Linked DNA regions of Homo sapiens: regions 2, 3 and 4 are each linked to region 1. The links are contacts of gene promoters, found by promoter capture Hi-C in blood cells and fetal thymus (Javierre and others, 2016). All regions are on one chromosome and are shown on one strand. Each heading gives the region's core, a stretch centred on a gene start or on the middle of the fragment in contact. The rest is flanking DNA. Distances are from core to core; before and after follow the strand shown.

What was found. Contacts are between HindIII fragments. The CHiCAGO score rates a contact against its expected background, and 5 or more counts as called.
Region 2: a contact is called between a fragment that was not itself captured here and the fragment with the promoter of ADO in region 1, in 1 of 17 cell types (erythroblasts). The highest score is 5.1, in erythroblasts.
Region 3: a contact is called between a fragment that was not itself captured here and the fragment with the promoter of ADO in region 1, in 1 of 17 cell types (M1 macrophages). The highest score is 5.1, in M1 macrophages.
Region 4: a contact is called between a fragment that was not itself captured here and the fragment with the promoter of ADO in region 1, in 2 of 17 cell types (neutrophils and fetal thymus). The highest score is 6.0, in neutrophils.

The regions. Positions count from the first base shown.
Region 1 is chr10:62,802,947-62,808,383 of GRCh38, forward strand. ADO (2-aminoethanethiol dioxygenase) reads left to right here and starts at 1,774. Exons shown (of 1, transcript NM_032804.6): 1 at 1,774-5,437. The coding sequence starts at 2,114. The coding sequence ends at 2,926. RefSeq lists enhancers at 1,529-1,788, 2,259-2,378 and a silencer at 1,829-2,078. The HindIII fragment of the contact is 5,397 bases long and covers 163-5,437 here.
Region 2 is chr10:63,714,134-63,719,825 of GRCh38, forward strand. No RefSeq gene overlaps it. Among named protein-coding and RNA genes, the nearest start is that of REEP3, 200 kb to the left of the region's middle. The HindIII fragment of the contact is 615 bases long and covers 1,865-2,479 here.
Region 3 is chr10:62,261,132-62,267,230 of GRCh38, forward strand. RTKN2 (rhotekin 2) reads right to left here. Exons shown (of 12, transcript NM_145307.4): 2 at 1,494-1,690. All of the region lies in intron 1 of LINC02621 (long intergenic non-protein coding RNA 2621), which reads left to right. Among named protein-coding and RNA genes, the nearest start is that of RTKN2, 4.7 kb to the right of the region's middle. RefSeq lists an enhancer at 3,493-3,994. The HindIII fragment of the contact is 2,510 bases long and covers 1,420-3,929 here.
Region 4 is chr10:62,036,160-62,041,678 of GRCh38, forward strand. All of the region lies in intron 4 of ARID5B (AT-rich interaction domain 5B), which reads left to right. Among named protein-coding and RNA genes, the nearest start is that of ARID5B, 140 kb to the left of the region's middle. RefSeq lists an enhancer at 5,020-5,079. The HindIII fragment of the contact is 762 bases long and covers 3,263-4,024 here.

The sequences.
Region 1 (5,437 bases), core at 524-3,023:
GCGGAGCTTGCAGTGAGCCGAGATCGCACCAGTGCACTCCCGCCTGGGCAACAGACCCAGACTCCGTCTCAAAAAAAAAAATAATAATAATAATTGCTTGAGGAAGCATCTTAAATATAAATCATAGGGGCAACCCGCTGTGGTCCCCTTCCAAGCTGTGGAAGCTTTGTTATTTCGCTCTTCACGATAAACCTTGTTACCCCTCAAAACAAACAAACAAACAAACAAAAAAAAACCACACACAAAAAAATAGGCTTCACTCCAGTTCTTCTGAATCAAAATCTCTGAGGTGTGACCCCAAGATCTTTATTTTTTAAGCTCTCCAGGGGGTTCTGATGAGTAGGGTTCAGAACTTTTGTTCCCTTAACACCGGCATTCTACAAATGAATAAATTGAGGCCCTAAAAGGGTAGGATTTGCCTAACGACACACAGCTTGTAAGTACACACAGTAGGCTGGAACAACAATATCCTGACTCTCGTTTGGTGCTTTTACACCAATTCAAGCTGCTGTTTTTGGTAAGACTGTACTTATTTCTGCTCTGCTGCTCATGCTTTGCTGGGTACTTAGTATTCACTATCCTACAACTTATTCCCTCATCTGCAATCTGGGAATAATAATAGTGCCTGCCTCTTAAGAGTTGCTGCAAGGATTAAATAGTATAACATTCATTATATAATGCACTTAACACAGTGCCTGGCATATTGTGAGTACTCATTAGCCAGGTTATGTAATCCACTTTAAAAAGTATGCCTATTTTAACTGGAGAGGATTCACTGAACCACTCCAATTACAAAATGTACAAGAAACCCATGTTCAGCTTTGGAATCCAAAAAGACTTTAAACTCAGGGTTAAGTTTAAAGTCATAGTATCTAATGTCTTGCTTTTCTAGTCATTTACTTATGCCAAAAGTTAGTTCACGCCAAGGAGAAGGATGCCTCTGTGTAGTGAAACAATTTCACAATTACTGACTGAACTGACTGTTGCACACCACTATTTCTCCTAGGATGCCTCAGAACCATCTAGTAACTCCATCTCTGGGTGACGACAGGGAATCTGCATTTATAAAAGCCCGCTCCCCCTTCTCAGGCAAACCAAGATTTGATAACCACTAGTATGTTCAGAATCCACGACCACTGTAAATGGCCTCTCAAGTCTCTCCAGCAAAAAGCTATACTGCTCTGTAACCAGAAGAGCAGCGTCATCAGGTCCTGATGCAAACAACAGCTGGGCCCAGCTGGGCCCAGCTGGGCCGAGTAACCTTGATGATCACAGAGGACGGCCTGGACCCCCTCCCCTCCTAGGAAACACAAAATTATAAAAGCGCCCTCCTGCAATTCCCGTGGGAGACAGTGCTGCCTAGGCCGCTACGAGGAGCTAAGGCTGACTCAACAGCCTCCTTCCCAGGGGCAAGGCCAAAGGAAGGCGACCCTGCATGGCTAACCAGGCCCCAGCGCGGCGCCAGAAGGTTAACGACCCTCCCTGCCCCTTTCCTTATGAAGGCCAAGAGCCTCCACTACTCCGGGGGCCAGCTGACGGAAGTGCGTCACTCCACCCTGCGGGGAGTGCCGGGAGTTGTAGTCAAGTGGCTACTAATCTTCCACCCCGATTCATCTTTTCTAAAACAAGAAAAACACCTCTGCATCCTGAAAAAGATCGCTTTATGCCCAACATGTGTAATAGTTCCTCTATTTTCCAATCAACAAACTGAACTATCTCAGAGCTCAAGCGGAAGGCCGGACTACAAGTCCCGGCATGCTCCGCAGGGTCCCCGGGCGCCCGGCCACCGTCGTAGGTGCGGGCCGCATGAATGGAGCGCCGGGCGTAAGGCAAAGCCTGGCACCGTCTGCGCGGCCGCTATCTGCTCCCGGAGCGTGAGTGCGGGGTGTGGGGCGTGCGCGTGCGCGCTCAGAGGGGGCTCAAGGCGAGCGCGCCGGGCAGTTGCGGGCGCGTGGCTGCTGAGGTTGGCGGCGGTGCCGCGCGCCCGACGGGCCGGTGGTTGCGGGGCCTCCCGCCTCGACCCGGGCTGGGGGCAGCCGTGGCGGCCGCCGGGGACCGCAAGGGGCGGAGGAAAGGAGGGGGCCGGTCCCGGCACGCAGAGGAGCAGCCGACCATGCCCCGAGACAACATGGCCTCCTTGATCCAACGGATCGCCCGCCAGGCTTGCCTCACCTTCCGGGGCAGCGGGGGCGGCCGCGGCGCTTCCGATCGCGACGCGGCTTCTGGCCCGGAGGCGCCGATGCAGCCGGGCTTCCCCGAGAACCTGAGCAAGCTGAAGAGCCTCCTGACCCAGCTCCGCGCCGAGGACTTGAACATCGCCCCGCGCAAGGCCACACTGCAGCCGCTGCCGCCCAACCTGCCGCCAGTCACCTACATGCACATCTACGAGACGGACGGCTTCAGCCTGGGCGTGTTCCTGCTCAAGAGCGGCACGTCCATCCCGCTGCACGACCACCCGGGCATGCACGGCATGCTCAAGGTGCTGTACGGCACCGTGCGCATCAGCTGCATGGACAAGCTAGACGCGGGCGGCGGGCAACGGCCGCGGGCCTTGCCGCCCGAGCAGCAGTTCGAGCCGCCGCTGCAGCCCCGGGAGCGAGAAGCCGTGCGGCCGGGCGTGCTGCGTTCGCGGGCCGAGTACACCGAGGCCAGCGGCCCCTGCATCCTCACACCGCACCGGGACAACCTGCACCAGATCGACGCCGTGGAAGGGCCTGCCGCCTTCCTGGACATCCTGGCCCCGCCCTACGACCCGGACGATGGCCGGGACTGCCACTATTACCGGGTGCTGGAGCCGGTCAGGCCCAAGGAGGCCTCCAGCTCGGCCTGTGACCTGCCTCGAGAGGTGTGGCTCCTGGAGACCCCACAGGCCGATGACTTCTGGTGCGAGGGAGAACCCTATCCAGGTCCCAAGGTCTTCCCTTGAAGCCACTGGCGCCCAGGAGCGGTGGGCCGAAGACGTGCCCTACCCTACCACAAGGGCTGTGTCTCTACCCCCTAGCCTGGGCGTTGGATCTACTGGAATGAGCAGCAGCCGCTTCCTCGGCAGCCTTGGGAAGCACGGGCGACTGGACAGCAGCCGCCGGGCACGGTTATGGGGGCGGGGTGGGCGGGGAGGCTAGATTGTTTCCTGGTACTGTCACTGCCACTGGGGCTTTGATTTGGAGGAATGGGGCAGGGGACTATCTGAAGCGCTTCCATCCTAAAGCCATAATGAAAATATCTTCCTCTCTTCCCCATTCTATACAAAATACTAAGTGGTTTTCTTGCTCCCACTCCCTACCCCTTAGTTAAATAGGGTTTATTTTCCACTCATGCCCTTATGCCTTTTTTTCTTATAGTTTTTTAACTTATTGACTGTGCATGACCCAGTGGTTTGAATTGTTTTTAGTTCAAGTCATTGGTAAAAACTAGGTTTAAGGAGATGAGCTACTGTTTAAAGTGAGCTGGCCTGCCTAATTAATTCCTTGTGAAAACTAAATGATTTTTTCAGTTTGGGGATCATTCTCACAACATAACTATGCATGTAGAGGACAAGATTTATTTTCTTTCCTCCCTTTGCCCAGTAGCCACATCTGGTTTACTCAGGCAGCATCTACTAAGAAATTCAGCACCTGCATATCTCTGTGACATGGTCACTTAGAGCTTATCTTCCCTATGAATCTCCAGATCTGTGAGTCGAGCAGATTTCATGTTGCAGATTCACCTTTAATGCAAAGACTGTATTATCCTCACATGACTTTTTTTCTTGTCTTACTGTACCTTAAAAGGTGATAGAGTAATTCTGTATTTTCTAACGGGAAGATTCAAAGGAGCTGAATGTGTTATGCTTCCAAACAACTGAATGTAAAACACTCCTAGCCAGTTGTTGCATTCCCTATATTTATTTACTTCCAATATTTTACTGTAAAAGTAGGGAGAAATATTATGTTGATAGTTGTTTCATATTCTCTCAGGAACTTTAATGTTCCCGACTCGGGTGATTCCAGCTGTGTTGCTGGCAGTGTTGTCTCAACCCTCTCCCTAAAATGACTGAGCCCTGGGTTCATCTAATGTGGTTTTCCTTAGGAAGAGATAGAAGGCACAGAAGATCACAGCTAGAGAATTGAGAATTAACTATACTACTAGCCATTTTAGGGCACCAAAACTTGGGATTAAACACTTCCTACTTCCCACTCCCAACTCCTGAAATGAAGTCTTGCTATCTGTGACTAGTTTTATTTTTGTGCTTTTAATAGTCCGAGCAGTCTTACCTTGTTTACACATGTATTGACACCATTTGCTTCAGGCCATGGAGCACTGTTTCTCCCTTTTTACTATTTATAGGATTCCGTTTTTTCACAAGACTTTTAATAAAAAGAAATTGTAGAAATAAACACATTAAAATTTGCCCAGCTGTCGTCTAAGCCCTCTTGATTGACTTGCCCAAGTGGCAATAGAGTTCTAATATCTATAATAAAGGGAGATTTGCTATTATTAGTGGAATGTTGACCCCGTATGTAGAGAAACAGTACGTGCCTTTGCCTCTTTATGCACACAGAGACCCAGGGTGAGGGAGTATTTGTTCCCAGTTTTTAAGATAGTATAAAAAAGCAAATACTTGGTGAGTGATTTAAAAATAAAACCAAAACAAAACACAAAAAGATATTCCACAGGACATGCCACTTTATTATAAAACCTGACACAGGCATAGTACCAAGTATTTCCTGCATTGTTGCTAAAATTGTTTTATTGTAGCTCCACATTCTGGTGTAGTTTAAAATGCCTTTGGGGGCAGTTTGAAGCAGTTCTTCATGCCACTTAGTTTGAAAATAAAATTCTAGATATGCAAATGATTTTCTTAGAAAACTTCACAAAATAAAAGATCTTGTTTTTTTTTCCATAGCACAGTAATGAATGTGGTTATCAATCACATACTTTTTTGGATTATATTGTAGCAAAAAGTTGATTAGCTTACCAAGATTATTAATAGCAATGTATGTGTTATAATACAACTTAGTACATTAAAGCTACGAAAACTCATCCTGGCTGTAGGATAGTAATAAAGGAAGAATTATGACTTCATTATGAAAAAAAGAAGTTTTAAAGTTTTCAATTACGAGCAATTTGGAAGAAAAAACCTAAGGTGCTTTTCAAAAGAGTAACTGAAATTGTTGCAGGCCAAAACAGCAATATGATATCTCAGATTTAGTTCAATAAGAACAGTGAAACTTTTGGTTCACTAATAAATTCTGAGTAAATTAGTGGTGAAGACAAAATATAACTTGTTTTAGTGAGCCACTGAGGAAAGAATATGCTTATTACAAAGACAAAATGTGGTGCAGAAACTATCTTGCACCTGTGTGCATAAACTGTTAGTCGTGACTGACTTGGTGTGTTGCTATTGTGTTTCTATATACTCCGTCCAATATAGATAATGTTTTAATAACAACTGTGG
Region 2 (5,692 bases), core at 922-3,421, 910 kb after region 1:
AAGTTGACTCAAGTCAGTTGTTGCCACTGGGAATGTGGGTCACTGGGACAGCCAGTTCTTCGTGTGGTGTTTTTTTTTTTTTTTTTTTTTTTTTGAGATGGAGTCTCACTCTTTCTCCCAGGCTAGAGTGCACTGGTGCGATCTCGGCTCACTGCAACCTCCGCCTCCTGGGTTCAAGCTATTCTCCTGCCTCAGTCTCCCAAGTAACTGGTATTATAGGCATGCGCCACCATGCCTGGCTACTTTTTTGCATTTTTAGTAGAGATGGGGTTTCACCATGTTAGCCAGGCTGGTCTCGAAATCCCGACCTCAAGTGATCCACCCACCTCAGCTTCCCAGAGTGCTGGGATTACAGGCATGAGCCACCGTGCCTGGCCCAGTTCTTTTTTATAGTGTGAAAGTGCTAAACTTTTAAATATTGGCAATGAATTAAGAAAAACTCTGTGTGCTTCACAAAATAGATAAATAGATCTGTGGGCTGAATTCATCTTGAAGATTAGTTTGCCAGGTCTTCGTGGACCTTAAGAAGATAAGGTCTTCTCTGTCTCAGAACTGTTGAGAAAACCTATGTGTTTAAAAGTGTGTTGTAAGCTGCAGCAAAGTACTAGAGACATAAAAAGCAGAACCTTAATAGGTTGTTCATCATATTTTTCAATATAGAAATTTTACACTGGAGGGTAGGTTTCAGGAAGATAACTTGATCCCTAATCAACTTCCAAATCAAGTCATGGCTGGGGAGTTAATGATTCTGTTCTTTTGTTCATTAAAAATAATTTATAATTTCTACCTCCATATTAAAAATTGATTTCATGCTATTAGCCTTGTGGGAAAAGCAGGCTATAATATAATATATATTTAAACTTCATATTTCTATATTCTGTGGTAAGTGCAGCCTTTTATGTTATGATTAACATATTAAATGAAAGTATCATTTTAGTATAAAATTGAATATGGAAAATTGATATGAGTAATATACATTTTAGTCAATATTTCTGCCATTTGAATTCACAAGGATATAATGTATATCTTCTACAATACTATAATAATTGCAAAAAAAGTATGCAAAGTACAAAAGCAACATGACAGAAGTTCTATTTTCTTTATACTAAAGTATTAAACCTTATCTGCAGAAAGACAGAAAGAGGAACAGAGAGAGAGAGAATCAAATGAAAGTTGAATTTAGTCTTTTAAAACATACATGGTAGCTGAGCGTGGTGGCTCACACCTGTAATTCCAGCACTTTGGGAGGCCGAGGTGGGCAGATCACAAGGTCAGGAGATCGAGACCATCCTGGCTAACATGGTGAAACCCTGTCTCTTCTAAAAATACAAAAAATTGGCCGGGCGTGGTGGCAGGAGCTTGTAGTCCCAGCTACTTGGGAGGCTGAGGCAGGAGAATGGCTTGAACCCGAGAGGCAGAGCTTGCAGTGAGCCGAGATCCGGCCACTGCACTCCAGCCTGGGCGATAGAGCGAGACTCTGTCTCAAAAACAACAACAACAACAACAACAAATACATAGTAGTAGCTAGATTACTTTTGTTTTTTTAACTGTATAAGAAATACAAATTTTAATTTCGGGAATGTGTATGATATATACTGCAGTTTTTAATTTATTTAAGTGATGTGCAAGTAATAGGCACAGGTGATAATTTAGGAAACAAGATAAAGTGAATCCCATATTGAAATGCCATAATTTCAGAGTAAAATAATGGAAATAGTACTTAAATATAAAGCTTTTGCTTTTACATGGATAGATAACAATTCTGTTTTCAATTTTTTTCATGATCTTAGCAACTTAAGACATAAATATTTCATTTCTTTATCCTTTTTTCTAGAGTTTGTCTCATTTTCTTCCCTTGTATTTAAGCTTTTTATCTTTTTGCCTCATGTATATAGTCTCATAGATTTGATCGATTAATGTATAGTTTCTGATGATGGAGTTTAGAACATGCTGCCTCAACATAGAGCATCTTGGCATTTGAGAAAACAAAAGCAGGAAGGACTCTGACCTTCTCCCTTTCTTCTCCTTTGAAGCAGGTCATAAAAGAATTCTCTGACTTTCCTCTGAAGCAGATCATAGTATTGTCATGTGAGAAGTGTCCACCCTATACCCCGAGGAAAGGAGTATCCTTACCTCTGAAGACACAGAAACACAAAGAATCTAAACAAACAGTTCTTGCTAAGTTCTCCCAGTTTATTCTCAATAGGTCATACCCCCTTTGCCCAATCGTCGTACTTCATGGCTATCCACTTCCTCATCAAACTTAGCATAAAAATACACAGGTTTCCCTTTTCTTTGAGTCTTTCTTTCTGAAGCCTCCTGTGGCATATAAAACTTATATTAAATACATTCATGTGCTTTTCTCTTGTTAATCTGTCTTTTGTAGGTACCTCAGCCATGAAGCTAGCAATAGGTGAGGGAAAGAAATCTTTCCTTTCTAAAACTAACTTATAATTTTAAAACACATTTTATGCTTTTAAGCTTTCACTTTAGAATACGTTGAAGGGCGCATGTATATAGTTTTCCTATGAGCAAGGCAAAGTGTGAAGAAATCTTTACCAAGTCAGATGGCATAGGCACAATCAGAATGGACACTGCCATGGTCTAGACAAACACCAGCTGTAAACAACTGTTTCAGACTTATGTTTCTCAACAAGTTGCAACTGTGCAATTATGATCACTAGAATAATTACAGTATGGGAAGTACTAAAACATTTTGGTTATTGTATCAGTCAGGATAATTAACCATTAGCTGCCGCAATAGATCAACTCTGAAATCTCAGGGGCTTTATACAACAAAAATTGATTTCTTGCTCACATAAAATGATGTAGTCAGCAGGGATTCCCCTCTACCCAGAGACCCCATGCCTCTCCATCTGTGTCTAATGCTGCCATATTAACACTTGGTTTCCAAAGTCACTGCACAAGAGACAGGAGAGCTGGAGGAGGTCCCTGGCTCTCAGTGACCTTGACTTGGAAGCGACATTTGATGCTTCTGCTTACCTTTCACCGGCCAGAGCTAGATATATGGCTCTAACCTCACTGCAAGGGAGGATAGAAAATGTAGGAGAGCATCAATTATTTTGTGAGTTTGCAGGCACAGCCCTGGTGATGATTTCTATCTCACATCATGAATTTATTTAACTCAAGGCAACTTGCAACCTTTGCTGCTGACTCACGGCCTGATTCCATGACTTCTTTGCATCTCCTTCTCTTACGGCTCTATCATACCATATTCTTCAATCTATTTCTGGTTCAGATGCTCAAGAGAGACAATTTGATTGCCTTGTTTATTTATTAACATAGTCTCATTTGGACAGAGCTTTTTATTCAGACAGAGTCTCACTTTGTCACCCAGGCGGGAGTGCAGTCGTGCAGTTGTGCAGTCACAGCTCACTGCAGCCTTGGCATCCTGGGTTCATGCTATCCTCCTGCCTCGGCGCCGCCCCCCCCCCGCCCCCAAGTAGCTGGGACTACGGGCACATGCCATCATGCCCAGCTAATTTCTTTCCTATTTGTAGTAGAAATGGAGTTTCACCATATTGTTCAGGCTGATCTCAAACTCCTGAGCTCAAGCAATCTGCCCGCCTCAGCCTCCCAAAGTGCTGGGGTTACAGGCATGAGCCACCATATCTGGCCAGAGCTTTTGTTTTAAATCATATGATAAACACTGGCCAGCTAAATTTCAGGCACCCCCTGCCCCCAATGCCCAGAGTTGTATCTAAGATTCGAGTGGTGTATGTAGCATTAAGGCATTGGAAAAAATACAGTCTTACCCTGTATGTACCCTGTATATATCCACCTTGGCCTTCATGTGACACTGAGCATAGCAGAGATCACCACTTATCTGCAGATATCCATGTACTCTTTCTTTGGTCAAAGAACTACCTTATTTTTACCTAGGCACAGGCTGCCCACTTCCCAGCCTCTCTGAAGTGAGGTGTGGACATGTGTCTAAGGCTGGCAGGTCGGCAGCAAGTGGGAACGGCGTACCTCCTCCTGGCTCAGGCCCTTAAATGGCATCTCTGAACCCTCAGCTTTGCACATCCCTTTTTCTCTTTCTCCCAGGCTGGAATGAGGATGTGGTGATGATGAGTTGGCTTTGTTTCCGTGAGGGCACAAGGATAGCATTCTGTGGGGTGGCAAAGTAACAAGATGAAAGGAACCTGGGCTCCTGGGTGATCTGGTGGTGCAGAGCAGCTCTAGCCCCCTGACCAGTATTACCTTGAACTTGTATGTGGATAGAAATGAGCATTCTATCTTGTTTAAGGCTCAGTTATGTTGGTCTCTTTGAAAACAGCTAAACTGATATCCTAAAGGATACTCCCATTTTCTAGGGGGGGTCCCTGCCGTACCCTCCTTTGTTTCTGATGGTCCAGCCTCTTCTGGTCTGTGGCTTCTGAGAGCTTTGCTTGTGCCGCGTTCTGCATGTTGGCGATATTCGAATGCTTCTTCGCCAGCTGCACTGTGAGAAACTCTGGTCTATGCTCATCTTGCATTTCTGGCACCATTCTCTGCCACCACACCACTCTGTGGCTTTGGAACTTTGTGAAGCTCTTAGCGGACCATCTGCCTAGACATGTCATACAGATTTTCCTTCCACTTCTGCACAAGCCAGATGTGGGGAACTAGAGAGTCCTATAGCTCCCAGATTCCACCCAAAGGGGAGCAGGATACTCAGCTCTAGAATCCCCAAACGTGTTTGGACATTTTATTATTCCTCCCTGTGACCCCAAATATAGGGCTCAGCTTAAGATAAAAGTAGGTTAGACCCAGGGTCCCTTTTCAGAAGCCCACTGGTGTCTTCACTTTTCTTTCAAATCTCTCCATTCTGCTCTATCAGATAAATCTTCTGAGTCTTGGGAGCAGAGGAAGCTCTGTCCTAACAGGGCAGGTTTCCTTCTACACCTTTTATCTCATTTCTGGGGCCTAAGCTTTAGGAAGATTCTGTTTTCTGGATTATGTTGTATCCTCCCTTCTCTGAGGCAATTAAGGCAGAACCTCATGAAGTGATAAACAGAATGCAGTAAATGGACAGAAGTGTCTGTTAATACTTTAGAATTTCACCTGCCATTTAACTAGCAGCCAATATTGTCAAATACTTGTCTTTTAGGAGTTTCTTCAGTCAATAAATCAGCCTGGTTTGTCATGGTGCAGTGGACAGGTCACTGGCTTGTGATTTGGAAGGTTTGTGTTCTACTCCTAGTTTACTCGTCGTTTTTGGAAGCAGACCCTCTATGTCAATAGCAAAGGGCAATTCCAAGTGGTAGTGTTCGTCTGTTTTTATCTGTGGACTTTGATTCTGCTGATTGTGTGACATTGGGAAATTGACCTAGATTTCATGCTTCAGTTTTTACTGTATATTTCCATAGCATGCTCTATCTCAGACTCAGGGAACTTATGTGAAGTGATAATAATGGTTAATATTTAAATAGAATCTCTAAAGAAAAAGTATTGTTTCTAGTACTTTATGTGTATGAATTCATTTGTGACTCATTCATAAGGTAGATCATGAGGTATAATCTAAAGTAGGGCTAGGATTTAAGCTTACACAGTCTGGTTCTAGGTCTGTGCTATTAATTATTAAGCCAGACAACCTCTTATAATAGGGAATAATTTGAAGGAGAGAAATGAAAAATGCCCTGCAATTATTCGAGTACTTTCCTAGTCTTATTTATAAATACCAATCTTT
Region 3 (6,099 bases), core at 1,425-3,924, 540 kb before region 1:
GTATGCCTATCTGAAAAACATTTTCCTACATTATGCTAATGGAACAATTTCATTGTATAATGCTGGAGGCATATAAGAATGAAAACTGACATTTGTTGAGTACTAAGTATGTAAAAGGCATTACATTAGGTTTTTGTATATATAAAATCTCAATTTTCAAAATGTAAATATTATCATGCCCACTGTAAGGAAGGAACTGAGGCACAAGGAGATTAAAATAGCTATCCCGGCAGGGCACAGTGGCTCATGCCTGTAATCCCAGCGCTCTGGGAGGCCGAGGTGGCCAAATCACGAGGTCAGGAGATTGAAACCATCCTGGCTAACATGGTGAAACCCCATCTCTACTAAAAATACAAATACAAAAAAAAAATCAGCTGGGTGTGGTGGCACACGCCTATAGTCCCAGTTACTCGGGAGGCTGAGGCAGGAGAATCGCTTGAACCCGGGAGGCAGAGGTTGCAGTGAGCTGAGATCACACCACTGCACTCCAGCCTGGGTGACAGAGCGAGACTCTGTCTTTAAAAAATAAATAAATAAATAAAAGCTATCCCATGGCAATATAGCTAATAAGGTTGGCTACTTTGTATCCAGGTCTCTATTACATTACATCCTCATCAAAATTTTACTTTTACAGAAATCTCAGACTCTGACTGGTGTTTTTAACTTACTTTTCAAGAATTTAATGATGCTATGCTGAGCCCAACAGTCACTATTGTCTAACAAGAAACTCTTCCCTTGTGTCAGAGCTGTGAATCAACAAAGGGGAATGTAAGACTGTTTTTATTTAAAATACACCAAAATCCAGCCTCTAAATTGAACCAATTCTTAGGTTCAAGTAAGATTTGGCATTGTAAAAAGTTAGGATATAAATTTCATATACAAATCATAGATCTAATCTAAAAGAACAGCATGAGATGACAGAACACATGAGCAGAAGTTATTAATACTTAGCAAATCTTAAATCTCATTAGCTTCCATCACTTGTTGCATGAATGTCCTTGAGGTTTTTTGCCTCTCTGGGACTTATGTTCACCATATCAAGAGATGGGCTAGCAGATTTTTAAGTTCCTTTCCATTCATAAGGTTTTATCTCTTTATAATTTTGCTGCTCACTCATCTCAATTTCTATACTTGAGTTTCCATGTCTCACAGCTAGTACCTTTATATTAGCATATTTCTAAGCAATTAATTTTCTTACTCTACATTTCTATCAATATTGGTACTTTCTTCTTAAAATGCTCCCTCAGTCATTGCTTCTGGATAATTTTCATTTTATAATTACATATTGAACACAACAGCCCAATAAAAGCTGCTGCCTAAGTTCACTCTGAGCTGTGTCGGCAAACTGTTTATGATGTCAGCTGCTACTTCAGTGTATTTGTTTTTTAAAACAGTTTGGTGATTTGACATTGGTACTTAAGCTTAAATTATACTGTGTTTTAAATTTACATATTTAAGTACATTAAAAGCCACAGGTAAACTATGTTACTAACCATCTTCCAGTCTGATTTGCAATCTGTTCTTCTAATTTCTGTAGCTCCGATGTATAGGCCATTAGTCGAGCATTGCACACCATGAGATTCTTAACTGCATGTAAAACTTGATCTTTCTGAGTGCTCAGAGAAAGGAGTTTCCATATTCCTTCTCGCATTCGAATTTCTAAGTCTATTTTTTCTTGAATGTTGCAGTCCTAAAAAAAAAATGCATCTTGAAAATATAGCAAAAACCCAAAATTACATCTTAACCCATAATAGATCGAAAATAGGTATCATAATTGTATACCATATTGAGAAAGCAACAAAGTTTTAATATATGTAGTGTAAAAATAGCTATTTTAAAATGCTCTTTGCAATTCTAAACTTCTTGCTTCATTAGGAAGTCTTTACAATCTAAAGAAACGGAATAAACGAACATAAACAAAGGTGAGAAACATTATGTGTTCTTATAACTATACGAAGTTTAATAGCATCCCTCCAAAATTTATGTCCATCCAGAACCTCAGAATGTAGCCTTATTTGGATACAGGGTTTTGCAGATGTAATTAGGTAAAATGAGAACATACTGGATTAGAGTGGGTCCTAAATCTAATGACTAGTGTCCTTAAAGAAAGGTCCCATGAAGACACAGTCACATACAGAGAGAATGACATGTGAAGACAGAGACTAATATGTCTATAAGCCAAAAAAATACCAAGGATTGATGGCAACAATCAGAAGCTGGAAAAGGCAAGAAAGGAATTCTTTCCTAGGGCCTGCAGAGGAGCATGACCCTGCCAATTCCTTGATTTCAGACGTCTGGCCTCCATAAGTTTGAGAATAAATTTCTCTTGTTTTCAGCCACTCAGTCTTGGTCATTTGTTATAGCAGCCTTAGAAAACATACAATAACTAATGTGAACAATATATCACACATATATATTATATACATTGTATTAAGAGATGGCAGTGTGGTTGATGACAGTGAATTAACCAAGAAAAACATTCTGAAAAAAGCAGATACTGAGTAAAGGAGCCAAGGTTTAGTAGCAGGGAGGAAACAGGCTATTTGTAACAGTAGGCAGTGTAAATACAATCTCAGAAGCAAGAGAGTGAAAGCGCTGTACACTGAAAATGTCAGAAGCCTTAGCTATCTGGAACAGAGCTTTAGAATACAATTCTGGACATACCATTTATTTTAGTTTTAGGGTTCACCATGAAACTACTAAGTATTTTATTGCTGAAAGTCTTTTATTCCATATAATTATCTTTTAATGGCCTGATTCTACATATAAGTTTCACACGCAACATTAAAATTCTACAAACTGAATGTACAGTTCTGATTTAATTCACAATGACTTTATAAAAATTATAAATCAAAGGTACTCTTTATTATATCACAAACATGTAATGTTTCTGGTATGTCTATTTCTAAAACATAAAGTGACCATCCTAGTTTCTATGGCAAAAAAATAAAGACTATAATTTACCTTCTGAATGGATCAAAATGTAAATTTAAAAATGTAAATGAAATCTAATACCAAAAGGTCTATACAACCTTTTCAAAAAGAAAAGATGAAAGTTAGGAGAGCTAATAGTTTTTGAAGACTACCCCAAAAGACAAACTACAGTAGATGATTTAACTTGACTATCCAAATCAATCAACTGTACTATTTACACACAGAAAACAGCTGTTTAATTACCTTCTGTAATTACATCATGTAATCACCACATAAAAACCTTCTCATATAGTGTTGTAACTCAAAACTGGTGTACTATATAAATGTAGTCATTTGCTGGTTTTCCTTCATTACACATGACTGAATTTCAACAACTCCATTTCATCTTTTTATGACTTACTAGCCCCAAAGTAAATTCTTCTTCAATGTAATTAGCAATTAATTATAAGAATTATCTATGTGACCCATATGTCTATAGAAATAAACTCTGGCAGACTGACTATATTGGGGAGTGCACATAGGGAGCAACCTAAAGCTGGGATGAATAGCTTTACCCCACAACTCAAATATAAACAAATACCATCTGGTGCCACTAAATTCAACTTTAGTTTTAAATGATACAATGAAACAGGCAGTTGAACTAGCACAGTGGTTCTCAAAGCTGGCTGCATATTAGAATCATCTGAGGCAGAGAGGAAGGGCCTTATAGAAGTACCTAAACCTGTGACCTACCCCAAACCAATCAGGCTCTCTGGAGGTGGGGCTTGAGCATTTTTTTTTTTTTTTACAGTTCCTCTGGTGATTCAATGGTCAGCTAGGGTAGAGAAGCACAGCTGGACTATTTGAAATTCCACAGCAATCTTGAAACTTGCAACAACCTTAAAGAACCAGCAGGTGGCTACAGCCACATTAAGGAATCAGTTTGTGTTTCTATCACATAAATGAAGAGTATCTTCTCACCATCACTTATAATGAAGACTCCATAAAACTATAGAAGCTTGGGAAATAGTAGAGAAAGAAAATGTAAAGTCAGGATTAAAAAAAAAATGTACGTGTAAAAAGTTTGAAGATGATGTAAGATTAAAGTACTATTTATTAAGGAAATGAGGTGTATCTAACAGATACTACTATTAAGATTTTTTCCTTTAGAGCAAGGGTCAGAAAACTATGGCCTGGCTGGGACCTGGTTTTGTAAATAAAGTTACACTGGAGCACAGACACACTCATTCATATTGTCTATGGCTCCTTTAAGCTACAAGGGCAGAGTTGAGCAACTTCAACAGAGACTGAGTGGCCTGCAAAGCTGAAAATACTTACTGTTTGCCCCTTTATAGAAATAGTTTACTGACCCATAATCCAGCCAAATTAACATACACAGTAAACTATAATCTTACCTCCCTCGCTGAGGCAGGTCTCAGGCAAATGTCAGTTAAGTGGATCCCAGAAGGCTAACATAAGCAGGATGAATTGTTAAGTGTACATATGGTTTTCAATGTATTCTGAGCTGTTGGTTTTTTTTTTTTTCTTAAGGCTACTGTTTTAGCCAGTTTTGTATTTCCCATGCAACTTCTTTTAGTACACATCTACATTTTACATGCAGAAAAAGCCTCTCTGGTTAAGCAGTGCTAGCTCTAGCAAGGAAGGGTTTATGGAACCAAAACTCTTTAGAGTTGTCTTTAGTTACTAAGGGTATACAATGCATCAGGGGTAAGGGTTCATGTCTAGTGCTATCCCCAGCAAGAATAATGATCATGTAATAAGGGTACCGATTGGGCATTCAATAGTGATGTTTATTAACCTCAAAGAAGATGAGTAGGGAATGGAAAATCATCAGTGTCGCTCCCTCAGCCATAATGGCTTGGCCAGGTAGAGTCAAGGCTGATTAGGACCAAAGACAAAAGCTGGTCTCTCTGTAACCATTCCTTTTAGGATTGTTTGAATGCCAGTCTCCAGGAACAGCAGAGAATGAGGTAAGGCCATCATACTCTTATTTCTTTTCCAATTTTCTGAGTAAGGGCTTGCCTCTAATCAAGTCAAACAGAAGCCTGTGTCACTGTCCTGACGCTATAAGTAGTTAAAGTCAGGCTGATAAAAATATATGGACAAGGCTATGAATGAAATAGGAGCATACCTTAAAAACAGAAATTTAGGTTAAGTAGGAAACAGAAACCTACTAGGTTTTAAGAGCTAGCCTAGCATGAAGGAAGTGCAAAGAAAATGGCTTTATTGTTGGTATTAAAAACTGACTAAAAAAACCTGAAGTTGAACTCCCGGTAAGACAACCGCAGTAATCAAGACAGAAACTATGATTCACCTAATGGATATAGTTAAGCCATGTTAACAAAGACCAAGGTGAAGAAGAAAAGAGTAAATACAGTACGTTCTCATTTTGCTAAAAGAAACTGTGTGGATTTTAAGAATTGTTTATGTACAGAAAAAAGTCTGGAAATTGTTAACAGCGGCCATTCTGGGGAATGGAACTGGAGACCGAATTCTTAAATTCATGTTTCTGTATATGTTGACTTTTCTGCAATGAGATAGTATTACTTTTTGAATTTTATTTTTATTAAGATGCCAAAAGCTTAAACATTTGTAAGAAAAGTAGGGGACTGCCCTAACCACTCAGATGAATAGGACAAAGGATAATAACAACAATAGTCATCTCTGAAGCACATCCTGAGTGCTAGGTGCTGTGATAAGTACTTTAGAGAGGTTCTCCAATTCCAACAGCTGTCTGGGATAGGCGGAATACCCAAGCTACAACGGTGGAAACTGAAACTTAGAAAACAGAGATAACTTATTCAAGGTTGCACAACAAGAAGAGTTTGGTTTGACCTGAATCTGACTCCAAAGCCAATACTCTATGCTGTGAGGAGTCGCAGAGGACTCCAGGGTTTCAGCAGAGGTGTTTGACCAGTGTGTGACCACCTCAAAATCTTTGGCCTTATCTCGATTACGTGGCAGCTTCATTCATGTATCAAAGGAAATACCAAATAAAAATTCAGTGTTAGTCAAGTATAAAATTATCTGACTCTCAATATTCCTGTTAGGTTGCAACCTACTACTATTTTGTGTTTTTTCTTCAAATCCAAACTGAGGAAGTAATTCCACATTTCAATCATTTTGATTTTGTCCTGCCTAAGAAATTAAGTATTGTATCTTCCC
Region 4 (5,519 bases), core at 2,394-4,893, 760 kb before region 1:
GAGAAAAGCTAAAAAAGAAAAGGTATCGATGTCAGAGGAAGCCCAGGAACAAAGGCACACAGGTATAAAGCTGTGTAATGTGCTTGGGACCTCTGAGGCATGAGTTACTGCTAGAAGGTGAGGACGATGCTCCCTAGCACAGTGGCCTGTGGTCCATTTCTTCTTGATCCCAGAGGTCCTGAGTTCCCAAAGCCCTTCCTCACCCCCAGGAGGGCTCCTTTGTTTTTTCAGCCCAGCCTAGCAAGCAGGTGGCGGTTGTTGACGCCCAATGCCAGAGCACTTTCCTGATGGCTTTGCAAGTGTTTTGCTGCTAGTACCTCACATTTGGGTCTGAGCAAACAGCTGGGAGTATGGTGCACAGAAGTCCTGCCAGAAGGACCTGCGCTTCATGCACTCCAAGTGAGCTTTCTTGCTTGTATGTTTTGGCATATGAACACAGTGGGAATGTCCTTGTCAGCTCCCATTTGACTTTATTAATTACAGTTCCTTGGAAAGTGTGTTTCAGTAACATGGTCTTGGGATGACAGGGCTCACCCTGCAGAGACCCAAATGGAGGTATTCAGGGCCCATTGAAAAACCATCTGCTGCCAAGGCTCTGCTGCTGATCTCATGCAACAGAAACCAGAGTCTGTCGCAGCTCTGCTACTCACTGGGTGACTCTGGGCGAGTGGCAGGCTCTCTGGTCCTGTCTTTTCTGATGTGGAGAATGACTAGCTGGTGCCCGAGGTTTTCCTAAAGCTATGGAATTCCATCATTTTATAAATGACTCCAATGACGAATCCTACTGGCATAACATCTATGGTTTCACCAACTCTTAGCAGTGATCTTTGGTTCCAGATTCATGTGAAAAGCCAAGAACCGCTTTCCACAATTTGTCTTGTCATGACTCTCCGGCTCCATATTTTAAGAAGCAGTCTACACTAGCCCTTGAATCTAGACTCTAATTTTTTAAGATACAAAGGAAATCATTAAGCCCCAGAATATTAGTAGAATATACGGCAATATGGATCAAGTAATCCAAAGTATTAGCAATGTTGCAAGAGGCTGTCACCTAGCAGCTCTGTATTATGTTTCCAGGCCCTCCCCCACTCATTTCCCTGAGCCCCGAGGCTGTGGTTAATAACGTCAAAAGAATGTTTTAAAATTGCCCTTCTGTTGATTCCAGAGAGTTAGGGCCCTCACATGGTTAGAGTCCTGGGCTAAGAGTCAAATTCTAAATTTAATTCCAGCCTCTATGAACATCTTAGTCCCATATTTCCTCACCATTTAGAGATGTTTCAGTTTTCCCATCTGCGAAATCGGCATAAGATGCCTTGCTCCACAGAAATACTTGTCAACAGCTTTGCCGTACACAAAGATTGGCATTGTATTGGGGCAAAATATCATTTTTCATTCCATAATAGGAATTAAACAAAAGCCCTTTGAGAACGCACCTTGTGTAAACGCCCTGTGCTTAAAAGCCTGTGAATTTCAGAGGTCAGCAAAAACCGCCCCCCTTCTTTATTATTTTTCTTAAAGCTAAACAAGGGTAACTAGGGAATTCATTTTGGAATATAAAGACATGAAAGAAAGGGTATTTCAGCTTGCACAATAGTACAAAGAAGAACAAGAGTTGTCATGTTTTGCTAAAGAACTCCCAGCTGTTTAATTTTATAGTAAAATTACTTTAAGAACTTTGCTAATTCAAAGACAAAATCAAACAACTGTTGTTGCAAAACTGAACTTCCACATTTGAGTGGAAAAGCCAATTTGAGATTAATCTGCCCCTAAAATCATATTATAAAAATACAGAGCATTTCTGTAATGCTGGTTGGAGGAGTGGCTTTTATCTGAAGAGAAGACACATAAAAGAGAAAAATGGTACATTTACTGGTAGTAAGATTTAAAAAAGTAGTTTATGTTCTCATGTACTTTGCCCTGACTTCTCCCCCAGCTTTCTCTTAAGCTCTTCAGTCTGTTTTAATACCAGGTTTGTTTGCTTTCTGGGGATGGGCCTGTTAGGCAGGAAATTGTTGAAAGGCATACAGCAGAAATTTTAAATGGTGTTTTTAAAAGATAAATACCCAATTGGGTAACTGACTATTAAATTTGGAGTTCAGAATTTTTTAAAATTTTATTTTTAGACAATATAGAAAGATAAATTCTGTACCTATACTTGGTTCTATAAGTCCCACATGTTGCCTATTGTCAGAAACAAACTGTTCCTTATTTAAAAAAAAAAAAAGAAAAGAAAAAAAGCCAGTTTTTCTTCCATATTAGGGAATTATTCAGACTTCTTTCCTTGGTTCCTATAATTCCAAACCAGTTGGAACATCAGTCTATTTTTGGTTTAAAGGAGCTTTTAAAATGTGAGCATGATTTTTTTAAGTTTCTAAATCTCATAAAAATCAATTTGCCACATATATAGCAGCTATGGTTGTAAATATAGTGAAGTCATTGTATTGCAGAAAGACAAAGTTCTAATTTCCATATTACAAACCCCACCTACCCCACCTTGTCCAATCTCCACATAAGAGGGCTGAAAATGTAAATTCTAAAACATATAAAACAACATAAGGTTGTCATTTGTGGCTGTTTCTATCCAAGATGAATGTTGTCACCTGTATTGGAGTAAACTCTTTTGTTAGTTTCTGCGGGTTTTTTTGGTCGTCCCACCGCATCCCATCGACTCACCACGAGAGGGCAATGGAGCGTTTGCTTTCAGCTAACAAAGCTAGAAATGGTTTTAATATCAGCTAAGTGTTTGAACTTGTTAAGGATTTATTTCTCCACCTTCCGATTGCCATACATGCAGCCTCCGAGTTTCCACTAACAGCGAATAATGATCCAAATAAAGTTATTCTGAGGGAAAATATAGACAGACTGGTGCAGACAAGAGCTTTTGCCCAAATAAGGATCCCTTTTGTGCAGACCCCATGTGTTAGATAACCATCAACTGACAGTTGCTCATGAGTTAATAATGTTGGATGCTGAAATATGCATACCATGTGCTATAAAAGAGTTTGGAGGACAAAGACAAATACTTCTATAGTTAGATATCAGAAACATACCAGAGGTGTGCAGATTGCTTCGTGGTACATAGGTTGAAACCGCCCAATCATTTCATCAAAATTAGTACAATATAAGTATGATACAGTAGAATGTATGATATTGATTGCATGTTTCATTGATGTTGCAGAAATTTTGGTCTAAGCCTTTCTGCATGTTACTGCCTTAAATGCTACAGCAACTACTGCCTTCTAAGAAAAGAAAATATTTCCTAAGCTTCTTTCTATAGCCACCATTGTTGCTCTTTTATTTTTACCATAGGAACCCATTTTACCATGTGTGTGCAGCCTTTTGATTGGCATGTAGTGTTTGGAGGGCTGTTAATGTCTAGTTAGGTTTCTGTGTTGCTGCTGCCACAGGAATCAAAAAGTGAGGAGGTGGAGGGAATCAGCTTTGATTTTGGCTACTATAACAAGTTGTTTGGGAGGATGGGACACAGGGCAAACTGAGCACCGGGCAGCCGCCTTCTCAGTGATGCCTGATGGTTTTTTGGTGCTAAGAATGATTGCGGAAAGAATGTTTCTCCTCCCTGCCCCCAGAGTTCAAACCTTTTTGTTCTGTTCAACTTTTCTGGGCTTATTGGAATGCCAGTCTTCAATGAATAATCTCATATTTTGTCATAAATGGGACCTGAAGCAGGTTGGCAAAGCCAATGAGGCTATGCCCCTGCATTTAGGCCTGACTGTAACTGACCTCTCTATTTATTCTCAGATGAAATGTCCAAAAAGTCAGACCATTAACTTACTCAATAGTTGGAGATTAAGAAGTGTCTACTTCCAAGCAACTAAAATCACTCCAGCTCCATTTTCTCCTATTCAGTTTGTACTGGATGATGAAAATGGCTTACATTATACCCGACCCATATTGACAGCAGGAGAGAACAAGTCATGAAATAAATAATTAGCTAGTTCCTTCCCCTCTCTCTCTCCATTCTCACTCTCTCTCTCTTTCTGTCTCTTCTCCAGTCTGTTGTCAAAGCTTAACATTTACTTTGACATCTTAGTTAAGAAAGTTAATGAAATAACATCTTCATCAGGGCCATTTAGTAGCCTTGAGTCAATGATTACCAGATTTGAATTTTACAGAAGGGAGACCTCAGCTTAAGAAAAATTTTTAGATACTATTATAACATTATATATATATATATGTGTGTAATGTGTATATATAACTATATATAACGTTTTTACATGACTACCCTCCATAACAGTGAATAAAATCTTAAATGTATTGAAACATTGAATCGTGACTTTTGCTGATTATTCTAGCTTCAGATGTTAATCTTGTTCTGTCTGCTCCTTAACACATATTTCCAAGAACATATCTATAATCATAACATTGAATTATTGACTAAACCAGCATCGCCCAAGAGAAAGATAATGTGAGCCACATGTAATTTAAAATATTCTAGTAACCACATTTTAAAAGGTAAAAAGAAACATGTGGAGTTAATTTTAATAATATATTTTATTTAACCCAGTATATTCAAAATATTATCATTTCAATATGCAATCAATATAAAATGTTATTAATGAGATATTTTACTTTTATTTTGTATTAAGTCTTGGAGATCCAGTGTGTATTTTACACTGCGGCACATCTCAATTTGGACTTGACATATAGTATTTCAGATACTCAAGGGACACGTGGCTAGCGGTGACTGTATCAGACACAGCAATTCTAAATAGTCATAGAAATGTTTTATCTTACAGTGAAAAATGTAAAGAAGCTGTAACCTCTTCTGGGTTCATTGTTAGCTTTACATTAGGGTTTCTGATGGTATCTGTGTGCTGTTTCTCTATAGTGTAACAAACCCTCCCTCCAATTGAGTGATCACTCTAGCTTGCCCCACGGCTTATAATCTGCCCTTAGTTAACATGTCACCAGGTATTATCAACCTTGTTGCTGCCTCTCCACGCCCACTCCAGGCCCCAAAGCTCTTCTCATTCTGTACCCTCACCCCACCCTGCTCCAAGACACACGCTCTTCTATACAATCTGTGAGTTTGCATGAGGTTCTTGGTACCACAGAAGAGTTTTTAAAGTCATTTTCCAGTATCTTGGCTCCGGTACCTGCACAAACAAATGAAGCTCAGAGACCACTGAGGTACTTAGTTGGGGATGGTGCTGGTGCCCTCATAGGGAGGAAGGGTGAGAGGGATTTGCCTGAACAAAGAAAAATGTCTCCGAATCTCAGACAACCAAAAATAGTCATCTTTTTACTTTTAAGTAAAAGACTATCCTACTATTCACATTATTCTTTCTGAAAGGTATAAAAGCACAAAGTGAGTGAAAAGCCCCCTTTCTGTACAAATTCCTTTTTGGATCTTTTTAAAAGAATTGGGAGCCTATCACTTGATAACTGTTTCTTATGTGTATGTCTTTTAAATATTAAAATGTATCCCATGACATACTCATCCAAGTATGTCATAAGTTAAATATCTCCATGTTAATCCACATACACACCAAAACAAA